Regions from separate parts of the Homo sapiens genome. Here regions 1, 2, 3, 5 and 6 are each linked to region 4. The links are contacts of gene promoters, found by promoter capture Hi-C in blood cells and fetal thymus (Javierre and others, 2016). All regions are on one chromosome and are shown on one strand. Each heading gives the region's core, a stretch centred on a gene start or on the middle of the fragment in contact. The rest is flanking DNA. Distances are from core to core; before and after follow the strand shown.

What was found. Contacts are between HindIII fragments. The CHiCAGO score rates a contact against its expected background, and 5 or more counts as called.
Region 1: a fragment that was not itself captured here is called in contact with the fragment with the promoter of PLAA in region 4 in 1 of 17 cell types (endothelial precursors); the score reaches 5.3 in endothelial precursors.
Region 2: a fragment that was not itself captured here is called in contact with the fragment with the promoter of PLAA in region 4 in 1 of 17 cell types (total B cells); the score reaches 5.4 in total B cells.
Region 3: a fragment that was not itself captured here is called in contact with the fragment with the promoter of PLAA in region 4 in 1 of 17 cell types (total B cells); the score reaches 5.5 in total B cells.
Region 5: a fragment that was not itself captured here is called in contact with the fragment with the promoter of PLAA in region 4 in 1 of 17 cell types (megakaryocytes); the score reaches 5.5 in megakaryocytes.
Region 6: a contact is called between a fragment that was not itself captured here and the fragment with the promoter of PLAA in region 4, in 2 of 17 cell types (megakaryocytes and endothelial precursors). The highest score is 6.9, in megakaryocytes.

What each region holds. Positions count from the first base shown.
Region 1 is chr9:27,287,314-27,290,013 of GRCh38, forward strand. EQTN (equatorin) reads right to left here. Exons shown (of 8, transcript NM_020641.3): 6 at 2,359-2,418. Among named protein-coding and RNA genes, the nearest start is that of EQTN, 8.5 kb to the right of the region's middle. The HindIII fragment of the contact is 2,863 bases long and covers 1-2,700 here.
Region 2 is chr9:27,367,514-27,370,213 of GRCh38, forward strand. All of the region lies in intron 2 of MOB3B (MOB kinase activator 3B), which reads right to left. Among named protein-coding and RNA genes, the nearest start is that of EQTN, 72 kb to the left of the region's middle. RefSeq lists enhancers at 1-50, 1,568-2,321, 2,322-2,700. The HindIII fragment of the contact is 1,036 bases long and covers 896-1,931 here.
Region 3 is chr9:27,338,887-27,341,586 of GRCh38, forward strand. The region is part of intron 3 of MOB3B (MOB kinase activator 3B); the gene reads right to left. Among named protein-coding and RNA genes, the nearest start is that of EQTN, 43 kb to the left of the region's middle. The HindIII fragment of the contact is 2,034 bases long and covers 290-2,323 here.
Region 4 is chr9:26,945,803-26,948,502 of GRCh38, forward strand. It overlaps PLAA (phospholipase A2 activating protein), which reads right to left and starts at 1,440. Exons shown (of 14, transcript NM_001031689.3): 1 at 1,095-1,440. The coding sequence starts at 1,243. It also overlaps a transcript of IFT74 not described here. RefSeq lists enhancers at 515-1,190, 934-1,193, 1,191-1,864, 1,454-1,763. The HindIII fragment of the contact is 3,001 bases long and covers 1-1,889 here.
Region 5 is chr9:27,213,214-27,215,913 of GRCh38, forward strand. TEK (TEK receptor tyrosine kinase) reads left to right here. Exons shown (of 23, transcript NM_000459.5): 18 at 271-384. Among named protein-coding and RNA genes, the nearest start is that of EQTN, 83 kb to the right of the region's middle. The HindIII fragment of the contact is 4,902 bases long and covers 1-2,700 here.
Region 6 is chr9:27,270,996-27,273,695 of GRCh38, forward strand. It overlaps the pseudogene REXO6P. Among named protein-coding and RNA genes, the nearest start is that of EQTN, 25 kb to the right of the region's middle. The HindIII fragment of the contact is 1,542 bases long and covers 571-2,112 here.

The sequences.
Region 1 (2,700 bases), core at 95-2,594, 340 kb after region 4:
GACTCTTTTAATGCTTCGAGGCCTGTTATTTTGGGAATAATTAAACAAATTACGTTAAAATGGGCTGTGCTCCTGAATTGCTTTTCTGTCTCCTGAAAGGGTTTTTAATAAAGATGTGTGCTCATAGTACATCTTCTTTATCTAGGTGATGGTCAGAACTAGAGAAGGGTTTGGAATTCGTAATCACTGGAAGTGACAGAAAAGCTAGTTACAAGCGTGGGCAGCTTTTCTCTCTAAGCCTCAGTTTTCTCAACTGTAAAATGAAGATAATACCAACTTCATGGAGTTGCTGTGAAGACTAACATAATAATGTATCTACAACACCTAACACGTAGTATGTGCTCAATAAACAATAAAATCAGTCAAGCTGAATTTAATCACTTAAATATTAAATAGGAGAAATGACACAGTATTTATAAAATGAGCCAGCATTTGTCATTCCTGTTTATAACTTTTCTAAACAAAGAAGGATCACTCAATTTTCTTTTCTTTTCTTTTTTTGAGATGGAGTCTTGCTCTGTCACCCAGGCTAGAGTGCAGTGTGCAGTGGCACAATCTTAGCTCACTGCAACCTCTGCCTCCCGGGTTCAAGTGATTCTCTTGCCTCAGCCTCCTGAGTAGCTGGGATTACAGGTACCCAACACCACGCCTGGCTAATTTTTTGGTATTTTTAACAGAGACGGGGTTTCACCATGTTGGCCAGGCTTGTCTCGAACTCCTGACCTCAGGTGATCTGCCTGCCTCAGCCTCCCAAAGTGCTGGGATTACAGTACCCAGACAAATGACTCAATTTTCTTGAAGCGCCACAAGGCAAATGGCCACACTTATCAATCCAGTGCACAAATGAGGGGACAGGTCTTAGATATATCATCATGCTATTTTTCAACCATTTATTTGTAGGACAGAGGTTTTTTTTGGGGAAATTAATGTGGTTCTTTCATGAAATTTTCCATTCAAATTAGGAGTTTTACCTCTATTAGTATAATTAAGCCATTAAGGAAAACTCTATCCAGCAACAGGAGCTCACATTGATTGCTGGTGAGAATTCCAAAAATACTTTGGAAGATAGTTTGGTAGTTTCTTACAAAGATAACCACTCTCATCTTCCCACCTTGCCCTCCCAAAGTGCTAGGATTACAGGCAAGCCACCCACTGCACATGAACATACTCTTACCATATGATCCAGAAATCATATTCATAGGTATTTACCAAAATGAGTCGAAAACTTATGTACACACAAAACCCTGCACACAAGTGTTTACAATAGCTTTTTTCATAATTGCCAAAAATTGGAGGCAACCAAGATGTCATTCAGTAGAAGAATGAACTAGGGTGCATTCATACAATGGAATATCAGTAATAAAAATAAATGAGCTCTCAAGCCACAAGAAAACATGGAGGAATCTTAAATGCATATTGCTGAGTGAAAGAAGCTAGTCTGAAAAGGTTACATACTGTATGACTCCAACTATATGACATTCTAGAAAAGGCAAAACTATAGCGATAGTAAAAAGATCAGTGGTTTTCAGGGGTTCAGGAGGAGAGAGGAACAAAGGGATGAATTGATGGGGCAGAGGAGATTTTAGGGCAGTGAAACTTTCGTATGATACTGGGATGGTAGACACGTGATATTATGCATTTGTCAAAACCCAAAGACCTGTATAATACAGAGTGAATCCTGATGTAAATTATGGACTTCAATTAATAATGAATCACTATTATTGGTTCATAAATTGTAACAAAGGTACCACATCATGCAAGACATAGGGGAAACTGAGGAGGGTGAAATATGGAAATTCTGTACGTTCTGCCAAATTTTTCTTTAAACCCAAAACTGCTCTAAAAATAAAGTCTATTTTGAAAAAAGACTGCATTCTACATATTATTCACTCACCTCCTCCATTTGGTTTCAGGAATAAATGTTACAAAACAGGAAGGTGGTAATGGTCATGTGGGAGGTATAACTAAAAAAGAATGCTTGGGAACTATAACTCTCCTGAACAGTGAATGTCCTCTCTGAGATGTTAGTCACCTTTCATACGCCAGACTTCACTAGGAAAAATATTATCATCATAAAGACACTAAGATGTGTAAGAGTATTTATGTGTCTATTAGTTGAAGTACTTTGGTTCATTTGTTGAGACAGGGTCTCACTCTGTCGCTCAGGCTGGAGTACAATGACATGCCACCGTGCCCACCTAATTTTTGTATTTTTTGTAGAGAAAAGGTTTTTGTCATGTTGCCCAGGCTGGTCTCGAACTCCTGGACTCAAGCGATCCACCTGCCTCAGCCTCCCAAAGTGCTGGGATTATAGGCATTAGCCACTGCACCCAGTCAATTGAAATATTTTGTTCTTACCTGGAATTGGGTGAAATAATTGATCTTTATCATCCATGACCACTGCTGTTCCATTTATAGCTGTTAAAACAAATTGGGGTTATGGTAAACAACGTTCACTTACTAAAATTATTGCCTGTGTATGTATGTGTATGTATAATTATAGTACCCAGTGTGTGTACAGTCTGTTCTCATTATTCGTGGCAGTTATATTCTATAAAGTCTTATAAACACTGTATTAACGAATACTGAACTGTTGCTCCCAGGGTAAATACAGGGTTAGATTCCTGCAAGTCTGGTCACAGCATTTTCATCAACTGATAAATAAATAACCTTGTTTTATGTGTGTTTCTGTTAAAAGAT
Region 2 (2,700 bases), core at 164-2,663, 420 kb after region 4:
GCTTGCCCTTAAGCAACTTTGCTAACTGCCAAAAGCCTCTGTTTTCTTGTCTGAGGAATGGTGATAATAATACCTAGCTCTTCATGAGACCACAAGGACTAAATGAGAAGCACAGCACCAGCAGGCACACAGAAGGCATCTGGCAAATGGCAGCCGATGTTACCAACGCTAGGAAGACGGCTCTTCTGAATCAATGCCAAGACAGGGGTGGCAGGAGGGCAAATGAAACAGGACAGGTGAAGCTGCCTCTTCTCCAAAGGATAAACTCTTCTTGGAAAGTATACTTGGAAGACATGTCATATATTGGAAGAGCATGTGAACTGTCCAAGGAGCTTCCAAAGGACATATGATGAAACCTGATTTCCTGGCCAATCCTTTGGGACCCCTGATGGCATGTCAACAACAACCAGAAGTGCCCATGTTTCTCCTTGAAACTGTTATTCATGTCTGAGGGCATTTGTGCTGTCCCTTCTGTCTTCAGAGTCCAGTAATAAGAGGGATGTGAAAATCCCTCTACAAGTCATAAAAACCACTCATTCTCAATAGTTCATGAATAAAAACAACATCCCACACACGTGGAAAAAGAAAACATACCTCCTCTGGCAGCGTGGCTGAGAACACACCATTTCCAAAATACTTGCAAAACAAGATGCAATCGGATCACAAGGCAAAAACAAAACAAAACAAAACAAAACACATGAACAACACAGATGTTTCTTAATAATATATATCCTCCTCCTCTTAGCTTATTCTCTTGCCCCTTCATCCATCCATTCTCCTGCCTCCTGCTCTCTGTCTATATATATACATACATATACATATATATACACACACATACATACACACACACACACACACACACACACACACACATACAGAGAGGGAGAGAGAGAGAAGCTTCGTGTTCTTGCTGATGCTGATGAAAATTCAGCTGCGAGGATTGATTCCTCTTAGCAGATGTTTTGTGTTATCTCAGTACGTTCCTCAAGAAAGTGTCTGTTCGTCATGCCAAGGAAAACAATCCTGTGTAGCAGGACTTTGTTCCTCTGCCTAAAAAAAGAGAAAACAAAGTCCCCAAACAAGCTGACAGCTGCAAATGCTTAGAAATAAACTGGCTACTACTCTGTTTTCCAACTCCCTCCCTCTGCCCCTCCCCAGCCCCTTTGTGCTGTCCTCCAGTCTGTTATCATGGTGGTTGGGCCAAAAGAAAGACAAACAGTGGTATGTGATTATATGTTCTCAAGAGAGTCTTAATTCTTTCAGACATGCCATGTGCTGGGCATAGGAAGTGCTGTTTCAGCCACCCCAAGGAGCAACCATGAGTCCAGCGTGCCTGCTCGTCACACCTCCTCCTACCCCTGAGCGCCACTTCTGAGTTGCTCATCAGCATCCCCAGCTCCCAGATGGCTGCCTTTGTCCCCTGCTTTCACAGCATGGATGTGAAAGGAGCAGTAGATTAAGAAAGACCCAAGATAACCCGTGAAAGATATTCACTGTGGATTGACAATAAAAGCCATTAGAAACAAACCCTAGACCGTGTAAACCTGACCAGTTTGCTGAAAATCAAATGGGACAAATGAGCCAGAGCTGAGAACAGGATGTTAATGAACTTCATTGGTTCTGGAAAGTCAGGCTGAGGTACCAGGAGTTTGATCAGGAATATAGGTCTAGGACTACCACACCTTCTGGTTTTTTTCATGAGCCCCAACCAGAATTTGAAAGCCAGGTTCTTTGTCATGGATGTAATATTGTGAGTATCCTCACAAATAAAACTATTCTTTATTCCCCAGTAGAATCTTTCTTCCATTATGTGGGGACAATTAACACCAAGTCTTGTCTTGAACAGTTGCTGATCTCTAAATTTCTCTTCAGCCCCACTGCCTCCTTCCTAGCTCACCTCCTGCCTAGTTTATGCAGGTCCCTTGTAACTAAGCTTCCTTTCTTTACTCCTGCATTTCTTCAATCTCCACTTGGCAGGTGAAGGACCTTCCCAATACGCAAATCTAACCAGGAAGCCTGTTTTTCTGCATAAAACTCTAAAGCAGCCTCCTACTGCTTCCAAGGTGAAATCAAAGCTATTTAACATGCAGGCAAGACCCTTTATGATTTCACACATGCAGTGGTCCACCATCATTTCTGGATTCTCCCAACTTGCATGTAATACTCCAGCCATCTGAAGCTACGATCCTCTTTCTCACTTGCTTCTGGGCGTTGCTACATACTGGAGGGTTGGTAGCTGGAAACCTCTTCCTCAGCTTCTCCATTTCGCCTGACTAACTCCCATTTGTTATTCAAACCTTAACTAATTTGTCACTTCCTCTAGAACGTCCTCCCTGGCCACCTCACCCTCAGTCTAGGTAGGCATATCATAACACCCGCTGCTTCTTCCATGACAATACTACCACATCAACTTTTAATTGTCCTTTTTTTTTTTTTTTTTTTGTCTCCCAGGAGACTGAAAATTGTGTAATGTCAGGGATCTTTCTTGTTCATAGTCATAGCCCTGGCATCGAATGCATAGCAGAACACGGTGGTTCTCCATATGTAATTATTGAATGCAACGGATTGAATGCTTATGCCCCCCTCAAATGCACGTGTTGAAATCCTAATTCCCAGGCTGATGGTACTAGGAGGTGGGGCCTTTGGGAGGTGATTAGGTCATGAAGGCAGACACCCCATGAATGGGATTAGTGCCTTTAA
Region 3 (2,700 bases), core at 57-2,556, 390 kb after region 4:
CAGGCAGGTAACTCCACAAGTGGGGCCTCCTGGGGCATGACTTTCTAAGGAGCCCTCAGTTGCATCCTTGGTGCAGAGTGAGGGTGAGTCCAGGGCTGCTTAATCTGCTTTCCCGGACCATTCCCAGCTGTTTGTGTGAGGCTGTGGAGGGAGTGCTGCAAGTTAGGGATCCCTGGGAACCCTCGGGGAGAGTCTCCCTGCCATGCACTCCCCCTAGGCTCAGGGGACTTCGTTCTTGCCCTCAAGGCCTTTTCTGCAGTGGTCAAGCTGGTGGAGCTTCCTGCCTGGAAGCTTGTTTTCAGAGGAGGGTAAAGGGACCAGGAGTCAATGGTGGAATCCTTAGGCGAGGTTCAGGCATGAGGCCTAAACATTTTTTTAGGAACTATTTTTTTGTAACGTTGTTGTGTCTGTTTCAGAGCATCTGGGAGAGAGAATTCCAGTAGGGGCTGACATCAGCCACCCCAAATTTATTTTGGAACTAGGCTTTATTGGTATAAATAACTTGAGAAGTGAACGAATGAATGAATGAAGCCGTGCCAGGTCACAAGAGTCAGAGTGAACAAGATGGGGCAGTGATAAGAGAGCCATCATTAACCAAAGTGTCTTGTGTTCCGAATGGAGTAGTTTCTATCATTTCCTGCACCTTTTCTGTGTGCCAGGCACTGTGCTCAATGCTGGACATCATTTCATTCAATCCTTACATCAGTCTTATGGGGTATGTGGTATCATTCTTATTTTACAGAGGGGTAATGGAGGTTAAGTACCTCGGCCATGGCCACATCACTAATAATTACCCTGGCCAAGGTTGAAACTTGAAAACCCATCCTCCTAACCAGTCTACTATATCCTGAGCCATCGTGCTGAATATATCTTCATTCATATCTACATGTGCTGTTTCAGTTGAGTCTCTGAATCAGCGGCTGTACCACACCAGCATGGGCCACGGGAGTAGGGACTCGGCTGGCAGGACCGTTCCCAGGAGGCCCACAGCCAGGGCTGCTGTTCTTCCTTTGCTAGCATCCCAAAGTCTGAATTCTTATAAAGCAGGCAGGGCAGCCAGTCTACAAAAATATTTTTAAAATTTCCCCAACTCTAAGTATATACAGGATCCAACCAGCACACAGGAATTAGAAATGTTCTTTCTGCTCTCTTTTAGGAATGTGGGTGGCAAATAAGCCAAACGAAATAAAAATAGAAACAAGGCAGGCCAGACTTCCCTAAACCACACAGAACAATATTTATTTGATTAATTCTGTTCCTAAACAACAGCCCACATTACTGACACGGAGGGCGTTTCCACGATGGAGGGGTGCGTGTGTGTGAATGTGTGCACATATGTGCAGGCTCCCAAGTGCACATATACATATGTATGGCTAGATAAACACACACACTCGCCACCCACGGAGAATATTTATTCATACCGATACAAAAATCAAACTGCTCTTCTTTTTCCAAACCCTGCAAACATTAAAAATAAGTCACTTTATGTAAACATATTCAGCCTCCTGATTTACATTGTTTCTTATAAAGACAGAGCTGCACATTTTTGAAGTTCTCTCATTTAACCACAGGAGATGGGTTACGGACACATGGTGGGTTGCCTCATAGTGCATCGTGAAAGCAAGAGCATTAATCAAAACTGTTTGTGGTCACTGTATCTCTGCAGATCCCCTCCCTAGAGCCCCGCAGCCCACCCCTCATTCTGCAACTCTGTGCTTTTTTTTTAGCACCCTGTCTTGCTCTGTGGATCCACCTACCATGTCCTTCCCACCTGTATCAACCTGGCTGATGCACTGATGGGACAGGGGATCCAACCTGATTTCTGCTCAGACTGATGCTACCTGTGATCAAAGGAGCCTGTGATTTCTGCTCAAAGCGACACTGAGATCTCTGACATTTGGCTGCTGCTCCCCGCTCCTTTCCTCCTCTGTTACCCAACTTCTCCAGAGCCCCCATGGAGGTCTGCACAGTTGGCAGGAGTCTGCCTCCCTCCTTCTCATACCCAGCATTTGTCAGCGCAGCTGGATTGGTTTCTGGCAGATGCTGCTGCTGCCCCTTGTTCTGGGATGAGCAAAGGGTGACTGAGTGCACCCACCCGCTTTGAGGAATGAAACAGATTTCAGCATGGCCCAATGCCCCCTGTAGGGTTGTGCAGTTCCTTAAAGGCTGGATGCGGGAGGGCAGGGGAAGGAATTCTCACATTTGCTTCTGTCATGTGGCCTTTCTATCAGGAGTGGGAGGGAAGGCACTGGCCGGTGAAGCAGAGAGTACCGGAAACTCCAGGTTAGGTTGCAGGCACCAGAGTTTTATTTATTCTGACAGAAGCTTAATGGGGGCAACTCTTAATGACATGCAAGAAACGCTGAACAAACGGTTTGTCCTTTTGGAGGGAGTATTCTGAACTTTCAGAGCATGGGTCCCTAAAGGAAGAATTTACCTCCCCTGGGAAAACAAAGGATTCCATAGAAGCCGTTCAGCCTAGCTGAATTCACCACAGGACAGAGCTTGCCATTGCTTAATAAGACCTCTATTGTGTGTCTGATGAAAACATATGGGGAATGTGCTTCCTCAGTGAGCCTGTAATTTAGGAAGTCTGTAGTTTCTAAGCAGTCTCACTCCTTTGGTAGGAACAAAGTGTTATTTTGATGGAGTAAATAGACATGAAACAAAACTAAAATTTTCCTTTTAATACAATGAGAT
Region 4 (2,700 bases), core at 190-2,689:
CTATTTGCTCTTCCACGACCAGCTCCATCCATCTCATGCTTCAAATGTCAACTTTAAACAAACAACTCCTCAGAGAGGCTTCCTTTAATATATCTCTCCACCTAATTAACTGTATGTTTTCTTCACATGCCAGTTTTTAATTATTTATTGGCTTGTTTTTTAATCTATCTTCCCCATCAGACTGTAAGAAAGCTCCAGAAACACTGGCAACTTGTCTGTCTTTATTCCTCTCCAGTATCCCAAACAAAGAGGAGGCACTCAACAGTTATCAACTGAATTTATGGATGGTGACTCAAATTCTAAAATCTCTAGCAGTGGGAGACCTACTAAATAACAAAATAACTAACCTCAATTTTTCTTTCTCTGAACTGCAATCTGTCTTCTAGGTCTTAAATATCCTGTTACAACCAGCCAAATCAGGGCTGAACCCGTGAACTCGATCAGGACTGATTCCTAACCTTTTTCTTCTTTTTTTTTTTGGTTCGTGAACCCTTCTGATAAATCCTTTGAAGGCAATGGATGCTGCTTCTCCTCAAGAAACAGCACATGCACAGAAACAAAACATCCGAGAGGTTTCACTCCCTCAGGACCAGCACAGACCACAGACTAAAATTCTAACCTGGACGAAAAGAGGATTCACCAGTGCAATTTTTGAGAACTAAAGTCTTCAAAAATTAAATTTTACAGAAGACTACAGAGCATCTTCTTCGAAAAAAAAAAAAAAAGAGGACATTTCAGATGCCTTCAAACTACCTCACTTCGGAGGGTGCAACTGCAATCAGTAAATTTTCAAGTCTAAAAGAAACTTGGGAGATCATCGTCCAAAAACTGAAGGCCCAAAAGGTAGGAGACTCGTCTGTGGTCAAGTTAGCACAACAAGGCAGGTCTTTGGTCCCCCAACCCTGTGCTCTTTCCACTTAAATCCCGATGGTTTCTTACAGAGTTCTAATAGTCTGAGAATTGGAAGGGAGCGGAGAGCAGAGGGAAGGCTGGGGGGAGAGAGAGACGGCAGGACTGACAGGGAAGGGTCACTCTCCTTCCACTCTCCGGGAAGCGTGCAACACAGCCGGGGCAACCCGACTCCCAGCGCTCACCTGTCTGGGGCCCAGAGGCGGGTGGTGCGGTCTCGGGACACGGACACAAAGGCTCCCGGCGGATAGGCGCAGCACACCAGGCCCCGTACGTCCAGCTCGTGGCCCCGGAGCGAGCAGCTCAGCCGGTACCTGGTTGCGCCGCTCGTCATGGCCAGTGTCTGTCTGGCGCCCGGTGCCCAGGCACTGTGCGAGACCAGTCCGCAGGGGCGACTCGGAGAGCGCCGGGCCGCGGCGGGAGAAGAGCCTGCAGGTAAGGGGCGGCCGGAGACCGGAAGAGCCCGAGAGCCGGTACGGAAGGGCGGCTGGGAAGGGGCGCGCCGAGCGGGCCGAGTGACACAGCAAGCCTGACAGGCACTCCGGAATTCATCATCGGCCTCAGCCCTCCATGACGCAGAGTGTGTGCGTCCCAACCGCCGACGCCGATGCGGAGCTGAGCTGGCTTTCCTCCAGGGCTCTGGACTCCCTGCTGAGCAAGAGAGAAAGAGGCCCGCCCTTCCACCAGGACGCCTGACCCTGGGGTCCTTCCCAAACCCGGGTCTCTTCCGACTCCGGGCCCAACAGTTTGTGGTAAATCGGGAAGCGGGCCGGGACTACAATTCCCATAATGCCGCGCCAGCTGGCGTGGACATCCGGCGCGCCGAATCCGGATATTTTAAACCTGAGTCTTTCGCGCTGGGCATGGCGGAATGGCTGAGTGAGGTTGTTTGGTGTCTACTGTTAGGTCATCCTCACTGCTTTTCCCTGAGAATCTCGAGGTTTTTGCAAGTTAACCTTGTTTTTCAATTAAAACGAGAAAGCTTGAGGCCAAATTGGGAACTATTAATCATTGAACTATTCCTCCGTTTCAAGTTATCTGAATCTCCTACTCTCTGTTGTCAAATTTAGCAAATACGGTGGTCCAAGTCAATTTTTTAAAGGTATAACTACTTTTCTCTGGCGGCTTGTTAAAATGTAGATTCTGATTCAGTAGGTCTGAGTTAGAGCTGAGATACGTATTTTTAACAACCCCGCCGCCCACCCACCCGTGGTGCTACTTGCTAGTCATTATCAGACCTTATTGAGTGCCAGGGTAAACATGACCTGTCTCCTTACTTTGTTTTCTTCCCATCCGCTATTCTCTCGCATCCAACTACACTTTTCCACAAACCTTTCTAAATTGCTAAGCCCAATTCACACTTTTCTGACTTCTCCCTTCCTAAAACTCCTACTCTAGGTTTGGAATCACTTTTCCCCTGGTTTGGGAGATCATTCTTGAAATGCTGACTTTTGATACTTCTTTGCTATCATATCCCCTCCCTGGGTGGATTATTTACTACTTGGCTTATTTCTAGAGCTGTATTCCCATATTGTCTTCTCCAAACTCTAGATCTGTATTTCTAGCTATCTGTTAGAAATCTGTACCAATTAGTCCTACTTAAATTATTTCAACATTTCTCTGGCCTTTCTACCCCTTCTCTCCAGCCAATCCTACACATTAAAATATAATTATCTTTCTGAAATATACACTTAATTGTTTTTTCTCTGTTTGACAACCTGTGATGGCTTTCCATTATTTTTTTTTTTTTTTTTTTTTTTTTTTTTTTTTTTTTTTTGAGACGGAGTGTCG
Region 5 (2,700 bases), core at 75-2,574, 270 kb after region 4:
TGTAATAACAGAGACACACTACATTACAGCTGGAGGATTTAACAACCTGTGTTTTTTATTTGTTCGTTTTCTGAAATTCTTCTGCCAAGATGTGGTGTGTCATTTGGCAGAATCCATTACCAGGGAATTTTGGAGGGGAACTTTAAGGGAACTGGATTGTGACTGTTTAAAATCCTTTTTTATACTATTGTTTTCTTTCCTGTTCCCCAAAGTTTTCAGCCCTGGGGCTTTCATTAGGCTGAAAATACATAATGTTTTCAAAAATTTCAGTTTATCCACAGGGATCTGGCTGCCAGAAACATTTTAGTTGGTGAAAACTATGTGGCAAAAATAGCAGATTTTGGATTGTCCCGAGGTCAAGAGGTGTATGTGAAAAAGACAATGGTAAGTGCCAGACACAGACACTGATCGCATCCTTTCCGAGGTACTCCCCTGTCTCCTGATGTTGCTTCTGAGACTGTCAGTGCTCTGTGGTGACTGAAGCATCTGACTGTATGTCCCAGTAGATACTGTGTGCCCTGGGAAACATTCTTTCTAAATGTTGGTTCCTAACATGATTGCAGCATCTGCATTAATTAATAATGAAGAAGGCACTGTCATGTGTGACCAAGTGATTGAATGTTCAAACCTAGTGGTTTGGGGTCTTGGTTCTATCCAGTCCAGACCCCAAGGCATCTCACTCAGGAACCTCTGAGGAGCTTGCACAATCCCCTTTCATGCACAGCTGACACAGCAAGGAAAAAAATTAACATATTTTCCAAAAGTCAAGAAGACAAACTAAATGGTTTCTAAATCACCAGGAGGCTCTACAGAGAAATTCATAACTTCTACAGGCTCATCTAAGATTTCTCTCTTCACTGAAACCTCAATGGTCACTATTCAAACCCAAATAAAATCCACTCTCCCAAACAGTAATATTTTATCTTTAAGTACAAGATTGCAGGAGAACCTAACCATACAGTCTTAGAGGAAGAGAGATACTCATTCTGCTTTTGGTGCCCAGTCTAGAATCACATAGTCCTAGAAGTACCGCATCCCTGCATGTTACAGCTGTGTGGATGAAATGTCACCATCCTCTCTTTTCCTTGGGTGGGCAGAATGCAGGGGCCTTAGGGATGACAAGCCCTGCAGCCTTTCCATGTGTCTGGCAGATCTACTCTGGTGGATGGCTCTCCCTTTTTTAGGTCTGATGAACATTACTTGGTCCCAGCTTTCCTGGGATGGCTCCAGTTGTCATAAGATATAGACAATCTTTTTGCTTTTGTGGGCACACCAAATTGTCTCTTAGCAAGGCTCAGGTTCCGGCATTTATTCTCAATTCCAGGCTTCTTTTTTTCCCATCATACTTATTTTAGTTACTGAGAAGATAAAGTAAAACAATACTCAAGAACATTTTGAAAGGAAATCACCCATAATTCACCACCTTGGCATATATATTTTTTTCATTTTGGCTTATTGCCTTTCACAGCATACATCCTTTTACATAGCTACAACCACAGTGAACGTAATCATTTTGGATCTTTCCACTCTCCTTTCTGATGAGGGTGTGAAGCTGGGTCCCTTTGGCTCTTCGAGGGCCCTGCATGCTTATCAACATCAACACTTTCAGAAGCCATGTGTGCCTCCCTGAGGGCTGGCTTCCAGGTGATGCTTTTCTCCCTAACCTTTTCAGGCATACTCAAAGCAGATGCTTCTCTGGAGCAGGGGTGGGCTTGTTTTCTTAAAGAAGCAGAATCCATCACTCACCTACCTACTCCAGCTTTCCCAACTCCTCCCTCACCACCTGGTGTCCTCAAATCTCCTTCCTGAAATCCTTTTCCCTGCTTTACTCCAGCACTTGGGGGATGTGGGTACCCTGGGTGAGAAGGTGGAGGGATAACACAGGATAACTCCACAATCTACCCATTCTATTTGGATGCTCTCCTCAGCCTCCCAAGACTAGCACTGGTTTGCTTGGCATTTCATAAAGGGCAGTGATTTCTGCAATATTGGGGTTATTTACAGGGGGAGAGCACCTATCAGGTCTCAACTCTATCTTACAATAGACTAAACAGGGTAAAGGTGTTCTTTAGCACCTTGGGGCTGGGGAGGAAAGGGCCAGGTTTGAGGGAAGGGGGAAGAAAGAAGGATTGGAGAGGAGCAAGTTCCCTGCAAGAAAGGTGCAGTGTGGCAAGACACTCCTAGAGAACACAGTGGCTACCTTCTCTGGCAGCCAATTTTAAAATCAGATTTTCAATTCTCATTGTACTTCAAAGCATCTGCATTTTTTAAAGATCCCCAGATGATTGAGTCCTATCCTGTGGATATTCTGATTCAATTGGTCTAGGGTGAGAACCCTGCATTAGGGTTTTTTTTTTTTTTTTTAAGTTACCCAGGGTGATTTTAATACTGGAAGTATTACTGCAAACTACTATACTAAGCAATTTGGGGTTTCACTATCATAGATTAATATATCCATCCCGTCATCATGGATTTGTTAGTACAATGTTTCATGCTTGTGCTAGATTTTGGGGTAACATAAGTCAGACACAGTCTCCACCTTCAAAGAGCTCGTAGACATATGACTCAGGATTGTAACAGCTGATAAATGCAAAGAGCAAGGAAAGCATAGATGCTACGGGAACACAAAGAAGGTGCACTGAACCAAGCTGAAAGGAAGTTAAGGAGGGCTTCCTGGAGGAGGTCAAATCCTGAGTTTCA
Region 6 (2,700 bases), core at 92-2,591, 330 kb after region 4:
AGATTACCAGAGACTGAAAGGAGAGAGGAATGGGGAGTTATTTAATGAGTACAGAATTTCTGTTTGAAATGATAAAAAAGCTCTGGAAATGGATAGTAGTGATAGTTTCATAACATTGTGAATACACATCATACCACTGAATTGTACACTTAAATGGTTAGAATGGTAATTTTATGTTACGTGTATTTTATAGCAATTTTAAAAAGTCATTGACACTAACAAAAAACGCTACAGAACAATATCTGTGATAAATATAGACACAAAAATCCTCAATGGAATACTAGGAAATGTAACCTAGCAACGTATAAAAAAAGATTATATGCCATGACCAAGAACACCTATCAAATAAATGTAAGGTTTAACACAGAAAGTCAATGCAATGTATCATATTAATAGAATAAAGGATAAAACCTGTGTGACAGCTCAATAGATGAAGAAAAAAGCATTTAACAAAATCTAACACAATGAGGCACTCAACAAACTAGGAATGGAAAGGAATTGTCTCAACTTAATAAAGGTTATATGTAAAAACCCCATAGTTATCATTGTACTTAATGAAGAAAGACTTAAAGCTTTCCCCCTAGGATCAGGAATAAGACAAGCATGCCCCTTATTACCACTGCTGTACCCATGTTTCCTTTGTTAGGTTTTCTGAGCCATGGGGCTCCCCTGTGCAGAGGATGGAGCTAGCAGACAGTCCTCACCCTGCCCAGACCCCCTAGAAGTAACCAGGGGACTTTTGGTAACTGAAAAAGACCATAAAAGTCATCCAAGAGGGAAGAAGGAACTGAACCAGTCCCATGGCCTGGTTTTGAAAATGTAATGAAGAGAAAATGAATAAAGTTATTTGCTAGTTGTGCTCCATGAGTTTTTTATTCAATGTAATAATTTTGTGTGTGTCTTCAGATAAATTACATTATATAATACCAACCTTGTAAACAGCCTCATCCTCTGTTTTACAAACTTTCAAATACTTCTCAACAAAGAGGTTGATGTAGCGTTGTCTTACTTCATCAGGTACTTTGGATAAGAATTCTGATGTTACTGAATGTCTTTTCCGATGAGCCATCTTGTTAAATGTATCTTTTGGCCTCTTGTTAAAAATAAAAGTGTTATTAGAGAAAAGAAGACATGTTTCTGTTTAATATTCCTACTGAGTATATGGAAGAAGTAAAACTACCTTAGGTCAGTTATATCAAAATTAAATTGAAAAGTAATTTCAAGTGTCAAGTTGAAGAGGTAGAATAAACACAAAGTATAAAATTACTTAAACTCACAAAATGGAGAAGTGAGACTGCCACATCTGTGCTGCTACCTGCACGTACGCAATGATAGCTGATCACTCATCTAATTGTACTACTGTTCCACAACCAGATTCCTAAAGCTGGGATTTGCTCCTCTGATTCAAATATAGCAAAGTTTGTAGGTTGCCATCCTTCAACTATGTATCCCAATGTCTTTCTGATAGCACATCATTAAGAAAAATGCTTGGACTTAAAATTTCTGAGTGACTTGAGTATACTTAATATTAAAGTGATCCCAGCTATAAACTCTTAGCATTTCTTCTGAAGGACTTATAAAAAGACCCAGAGAACTTTAAAATCAGTTAATCTGCTTCACCTTTGAGGAAAAATAAAACCAAGCCAACATCATACTTCTCAGTAATTGTTTGCATGTAATACAAAGACATTTTAGGGATGGAGAAAACCTTAAAACTGCCAGGTGGTTTTCTGCTACAAAATAATTGGAAAACAGGGGAGGAAAATCACTGCCACAAGTAGAATAAGAATTACTTAAAGAAGGCTACAACATCATATCACTGATGGCATTATTTAGTAAAGAGCTGTCTCTGTCTCATATACATAAACAAATATACACCCTCACTGGACACAGCTTGAAACTTTCCTTTTAAAAAATGTTGAGTAGGTTTCAATTAACCATAGCCATAGATGTTTTAAGTCTAAAACAATGCCTACTATTTCCAAGGATAGAATCAACAAAACATCTAAGAGTGACACAAATTACATCATAATGAAAATAACTATATTCATCGGTAAGCTAAAAAATGTTGACATTTTTCTCTATTGGGTCTGGCATTTATCTGAATTTGAAAGCTTCAGAAAAAAATATAGCCACTCTTCCAGGGACTCTATATGTAAGCAGGATATGATGAAATATAATTCTGGTGTTCAGACTTAGTTTATAATACCTAAACAGAAAGAGAAGCAATACTTTTGACAGGAATGAACGATTTGGTTGGTTTTGCAGTTGGGTTTTCTCTTGAAAGAACTACATTCAGATGAAGGTCCATTGTGAGTGAATATTCTAAGAAGTTTTCATGAACAAGGAAAAGAAAAGATAAATTTTAATGACATTAACCTCAGATGATTAGAGTTTAATCATTAATTCAAAATTTCACAACACTTCCTTTATAGGTTTGAAACATGCAACCTGGAAGAAAACAACATTCAAATGCAAAAAAATCCCAATAACCCACTCCAGTATAATTCAGAAGAATGAATTGAGATAATTGATAAAACAATTGTAAAATACTTGCAAAATAGTACTACTATTGTGTATCATTTAGAGATAAACAAAGTATTGACTGGGAGTGGTGGCTCATGCCTGTAATCTCAGCACTTGGGGGGCCGAGGTGGGTGGATCGCTTTAAGGTCAGGAGTTGAGACCAGCCTGGCTAAC